2 separate regions of the Homo sapiens genome follow, and region 1 is linked to region 2. Evidence: promoter capture Hi-C in 16 types of primary human blood cells and fetal thymus (Javierre and others, 2016). All regions are on one chromosome and are shown on one strand. Each heading gives the region's core, a stretch centred on a gene start or on the middle of the fragment in contact. The rest is flanking DNA. Distances are from core to core; before and after follow the strand shown. Region 1 has its middle 200 kb from the start of LINC00973. Region 2 holds the start of CMSS1 (cms1 ribosomal small subunit homolog).

The links. The method cuts DNA at HindIII sites, captures the fragments that hold promoters and counts their contacts. A CHiCAGO score of 5 or more calls a contact.
Region 1: a contact is called between a fragment that was not itself captured here and the fragment with the promoter of CMSS1 in region 2, in 1 of 17 cell types (endothelial precursors). The highest score is 6.0, in endothelial precursors.

The regions. Positions count from the first base shown.
Region 1 is chr3:99,115,829-99,118,814 of GRCh38, forward strand. No RefSeq gene overlaps it. Among named protein-coding and RNA genes, the nearest start is that of LINC00973, 200 kb to the left of the region's middle. The HindIII fragment of the contact is 1,373 bases long and covers 634-2,006 here.
Region 2 is chr3:99,816,530-99,819,472 of GRCh38, forward strand. It overlaps CMSS1 (cms1 ribosomal small subunit homolog), which reads left to right and starts at 1,333. Exons shown (of 10, transcript NM_032359.4): 1 at 1,333-1,514. The coding sequence starts at 1,451. It overlaps HP09053 (a long non-coding RNA gene), which reads right to left. Exons shown (of 3, transcript NR_110821.1): 2 at 2,391-2,445; 3 at 103-1,943. It overlaps LOC105374010 (a long non-coding RNA gene), which reads left to right and starts at 1,333. Exons shown (of 5, transcript NR_189163.1): 1 at 1,333-1,514. RefSeq lists a silencer at 1,014-1,768 and enhancers at 1,184-2,058, 1,290-1,599. The HindIII fragment of the contact is 550 bases long and covers 1,195-1,744 here.

The DNA of each region.
Region 1 (2,986 bases), core at 70-2,569, 700 kb before region 2:
ACACTTAAATGATAGCAGCTGAGACCATTTTTCAAGAGCTGCTATTTAATGCGGTAAGAACTTATGCTACATTTCTGGGTTGGAGTCTACTGGCCCGTGCAAGCTAATCTGAAGATGATTAGCAACTCATTTGACAAGGTAGGTTAGAACTGAAATGAATGAGTTAACTATTGTCCCTTAGCCTTGTTTATATCCTCATCATATCCCATCAGTATTATTATAATCATCCTCTACCCAGTCTCCCTGATCCCAGTCTACCTGCATAATCATCTTCTTAAAATGTAAATCTAATAATATTGCTCCTTAACATCACTGCGTAGAAAATCTACAATGTGTTTTATCACCATAGAGTAAATCCCCAAAATCTAAATATGGTATAATAAGGCAATTGCCACCAGTTACTTTTCCAGCTTCTTTGTTAGGTACCTCTCCCACCCCCATCATCTTTCGCTAATTACAGAAACATTCCCACTCTCCAATGAACATTCCTTACTCTTCCATGCCTCCATTCCTTGGCTTTTACTGTTTTCTATGTCGAGAACACTCAACCTCCAAATTGCTGAAATTCCATGCATCCTTCAAGAATAGGTTCAAATCCTACTTTTGAGTAGGTTTTCCCAAACTTTCAGGCTAAGCTTTATTTGAGAACTTTGTTCACTTTTTCTTTCTGATCATTATAGAACACTAAAAATGTGAATTACCTATTCATGTTTGTCTCCTTCATAAAACCATGAGCTCATTAGAGCCAAGGGATCAATCTGATTTGTCTTGTTATTCTCAGTTCTTAGTACTCAGCATGGTATCCAAGACATAGTACATTCTCAAATATTTTTGTTGAATGAATAAATGAATATATATTGTATTATATAGGATTAGGTTTGAATCTATAGAAACTCTATGACTCAGCAAGATAGAAGAATTTTTCTTTTTCCTCATATAAAGGATATTTAGAGACAGGCAATCTAAGGCTGTATATTGGCTCAATGTTGGCATCAGTGTCACAAGAGAAACTCTGCTACCCATCTTCTGTAGACTGAATTATGTGCTCAGAGTCCTAACCCCCCGATGTGACTATATCTGGAGATAGAAACTTTGTGGAGGCAGTTAAATTAGGTCATAAGGGTGAGGTCATGCCATGAACTAAATGTCTGTCCCCACTACCCCATTTGTATGTTGAAAGTCTAATTCTTAATGTGATAATATTTAGAGACAGGACCTTTGGGAGGTAATTAGTTATGAGAGTAGAACCCTATGTGAATGGGTTTAATGCCTTTATACAAAGAGACAGGAAAGAGTTTGCTTCCCCTACTCTCGTTAGGAAACCAGGAAGAGGGCCCTAAACAGACATTGGATCTGCCAGTATCTTGCTCCTGAACTTCCAGCCTCCAGAACTGTGAGAAATAATTTTATGTTGTTTAAACCATCTACTCTATGGTATCTTGTTATAATAGCTCAAACTGACCAAGATAGGCCCTGATATGCTAAGATTAGTTTATTGTTTTTATCAGAAGAGAGGCATCAGAAAACCCTCTCTTACCCATCTCTGCCCTGAATTCTTGAGTTCACAAAGAAAAAGACATGGGCAAACAGTGTGGTAGCAGATGCCTACAAGCCAGGAAGAGATGCCTCACCAGAAACCAACCATGCTGACACCTGATCTCAGACTTTGAGCCTCCAGGACTGTGAGAAAATAAATATCTGTTGTTTAAGCCACCCTGTCTGTGGCATTTTATTAAGGCAGCCTGAGCTAAAACATTAGTTTTAACTTCAAGATCTCCTTCTGGTCTAAAATGGCTGCTGGAGTATCGGTGATTACATCTGAGTTTTGGGCAATAGGAAGGAAGAAGGAGGAGAAGGAAAAAGGGTGAGAAGTTCCCTCTCTTAACTGAGTCAGTGCTCCTTCAAAATTTCTCAGATATTCACTTAAGTACCTTGTTCACCCCTGGCTTCAAGGAAACCTGGAAAATGTACTGTGTAAGCTGGATACATTGCCAGGCATACAATCAAGCTTCTGTTTGTGAGGAAGGTGGGGAAAAAGGCTATTAGGTCAGCACTTAGTAGTTCTGGTCAGAAATGTCTTCATGACCCCCCACCCCCCTACCCCCCACAGTTGTGGCTTTTGGATGGAAAGTCTGTGTCCTGGCTCTATAGAGTGGTCCCCTACACTGCACTGAATTTGTAAAAAGGGTGTCATTTGGGTAACATAGGCAAAGATCTAGACAAAAATGTTGAAGTACAGGATGTTTTGAATGCTACTATCATTTGATTAAAGAGTTGGATAGTACAATATTTTATAACATTCCTGGAAAGAGTTTTGAGGGGATGTTCATGTTCTCTTTTTCTCCCGGCAAGGAAAATCTGAATTAAATATTCCTATAAAATTGAGAGCCTATTCTGGACCTATCACTTCAGAAGAGTTGGTTATGCTACACTAATCAGATTTAATCCACCTTACTTGGAGATCAGCGTTCTATAGCCCAATTTGATTTACTTAATCAAATTGGAGGGGAGAAGGAATGAATATTAGGAGAGGACCACACTGGTTCTGCAGTTTCAGGGGAAATCAATCTTAAGAACTGAAGAGGTGGAGGATGGACATCTGCACTCCAATATTCTCCTGTAGTAGTGTCTTGGGTTTGAGCCCACAAAACTGTGACCAAACAATTGGGAGATTCTTGAAATGCTGTCACTATCCTGAAATTTCTAATTAACCACAAATATTCTGAGTGCTTTCTATGTTTAAACTGGCATGGCTAACCATCACTTTTTAGGGTGATCTGAATGGGTTTGAATTGAGTAACTCATTTTCCTGGTATTCCCAGCTGGCTTACTGTCATTTCATTATGCTTGTAGCAATACCACAGTTATTTAATAAATTCAATTCCACATGTTGCCCAATTGAATTTCGGGGTCTCATAATGGTCCTATGACTAGCTTCTGCTGTTTTTTACATTGCCATCTGAATGGGAAAAGGAAATAATATCCA
Region 2 (2,943 bases), core at 83-2,582:
CGCGCCCGGCCCATACTTCTTAATTTTGTGATTTATTGCCTGAAAAACGGTCTCGCTGTGGTGTTTTTTTTGTATTTCCCAGATTAATAATCAGACTGAATTCTTTTCATGTTTATTAGCCATAGCAACTCCTCTTCCACACTGGCATTTCTTATCTTTTTCAAAAATCTATTAATCACGAAAATCTCGTCATCTACATTTCTTCACAAAAGCCATATTACTTTTGATCTTTATAGATTATTTTACATTTGCCATATTTATACATAATATCTTCCCTTTTGGGGCATTTAGAGTGTGCGGACAAAGTCTAGGCAGTAATGCATTTATAAAACATCTATGAGTTGGGTGCACACGGGGTAATTTTCCACATATGGCTAATCCTAGCCTCATCAGATTAAGTTTCCCTGTCTTGTCATTTCCGAGGATGTATCCTATTAGAAGTCTAGCCCTTTATTCCTACAAATTGAATTTCCACTACTGTAGGCTAACATCTGAATGGACTCATCTTACTATTCCATGCATAGTACCAGGCACGTTGCGTGCTTTTACTACATTTTGTATAATTTTTACGTCTGTGTTTGATGTCCTGAAAAATACCGTCCACAATTACTTCACAGCTAGCCCCAGCACTTGGCGCCCAGCGGGTTTTCCTAGTCCCTCCCTGCCAAATCACGTTGGGACTGAGACAAGAGGCACTGCGGGTCTCTTACCTATAGTTACGAAGCAATGGACTCCCTTATTACTTCGTTTCCCAAATAGGGGGTGGGACACACAACCGAGGGAGTATGAGGAAAACAACTTGCGGGTCTTCGAGCCACTTGCGTCTTTCTGTGGGCGAGCCTTTCCAGGCCAATTACATTTTCTTTACTCATATTGCATAAATAGCAGAACTACATTTACCACAAAGGCCCGACATTCATGGTCATGGATCCTTGCGCATGTTTTCTAAGAGCAAACTGTACAAACACATAAACTCTGAAACACTGACGCACAAGCGAAAACACACGCACATGTTTGGGTCTTCTCCCGCTGCGCAAGTTCTTTGAAACTGAGCGGAGAAAAATCGTCTTCACATGGTGTCTCACACTTTCGACACAATCTTATCGGGAAACGTAACACGTAAACAAAATTTTTTAAAATGCATTATCAAAAACGATGACAATCCCTTTCGTCTTATGTTCCTTTTTGTCTTTAAGCTTTGGGGGGATTTATGTTGCGTTTCCAAACTGCTTCTGCCTGTCGGCGCCTGTGTGGAAACTGCGACGAGTCTGGGAGCGGCTGCCGGAGAGGCGGGGCAGAGGTGTGACGTCATCGCCGCGGGGCGGAGGCGACAGTGTCTAGCGGGAGCTCCGCGTGTAGCTACGCCGGCCGCCTGGCTTTGAGACAACGTGATTCTCCGCAGCTGGTCGCCTACCCGTGATGTTCTGCCCACGTCGAGACCTGAGCTGAAATGGCAGACGATCTCGGAGACGAGTGGTGGGAGAACCAGCCGACTGGAGCAGGCAGCAGCCCAGGTACCCACTCTGTGCCCGCGCTCCTACGGGGCCTCTCCCGGAGCCCTTCCGTGCGCCTCAGCCCTGGTCGCTTCTGGCGATCGCGGTGTTTGCCCAGCAGGGGTGTGCACCGCCTTGGGAGCGCGCAAGCATCTCGGGGAAAATGGTGCAAGAGATTCTTTAACACGTGAAACAGACAGCTGTGACATTAACTCAGATCTGTCTGCCAGCCAGGAAGGATCCTTTCCACAAGCTTTCTCTTTTCCTTATTTCTTGAGAATGGATAAGACAGTTTTTGTGAAGAGAGGCAACTTTGTATGATGGTTAAGGGTGACCCATGAACTGCTTTCAATTCAGACTGAGGTCAGAAGCAGGGGTTGCTGCTTCAGACTCCCTCCATTCAAATCACGACTCCAGTATTCTGATACTGTTTAGCCTCCTTTTCCTCATCTGTAAAATAATGATAACAATAATGTCCATTTCGTAAAGTTGTGAAGATTAAGTGAAGTTAGTACAGTAATGCACTTTAGCATAGTGCTTGACATATAATGTGTGGTAAATATAAGTTACTGTATTTCTTGTGGTCATCATCATTATCATGGAATTTGGAATAGTAGAACTGGAAGGAGGCTTAAATAGAGATCATCCTTTGAACTCACTTATTTTACAGATGAGAAACATAACCTAAAGATGTCAAGTAACTTGACAAGTTCACAAAGCTAGCTCCTTTCAGAAACAATACTAGAATTCAGTTAACACAATTTGAATAGTTTCTACTATGCTCTGCTGTGTTTACCAACTCCTGATGCAGTGGGCATTTCATCCCCAAGTAGAGTAGCGTTAAGTGACCCCCCATGTCAGGCTAGCCTTGAACTTTTTAAGTTCCATCACACCTACCATGCAATTATTGGTTGGTTGGTTTTTATCACTCCTCAAGGTCTGCCTCTTTTCTCTACAAGAGAAGACAGGGCCAAAGTCAGATTCATACTTCTGTCATCCACAGGGCCCTGCACATGTTAGACACTTGATACCTATTTGCTGCAAACAATCTTGAAATACTAGTTGTGAAATATCCATTAAAAATAACCAACTTCATTTGTTGCATTGTTTCCGGAAGGTCAAGCCTTCAGGTACAAACTAAGCAGATGTCATTTTTAGAAAGGTAGCCAATACAACATTTCCTTGATTAAACTTCCTGACTCTTTTGCAGCCCTGTGGTGTTCCACATTTACTTTAATAACTACCCCTCCCAACTCAGGTGTTAAAAAGCTCTATTTTATGATATGATTGAAGATGAACAGAGGCCATTTAAGAAATAGTTGAATTCTGTTTGAGTGGTGAAGGGGATCCCAATTCTTGGTTCTAGTCCTCACTAGCTGTGTGACTTTCAAGTTATTCATCCGTTGGAAGAAAGGCAGTCAACATGTATTGAGTATCTATTATGTGACAA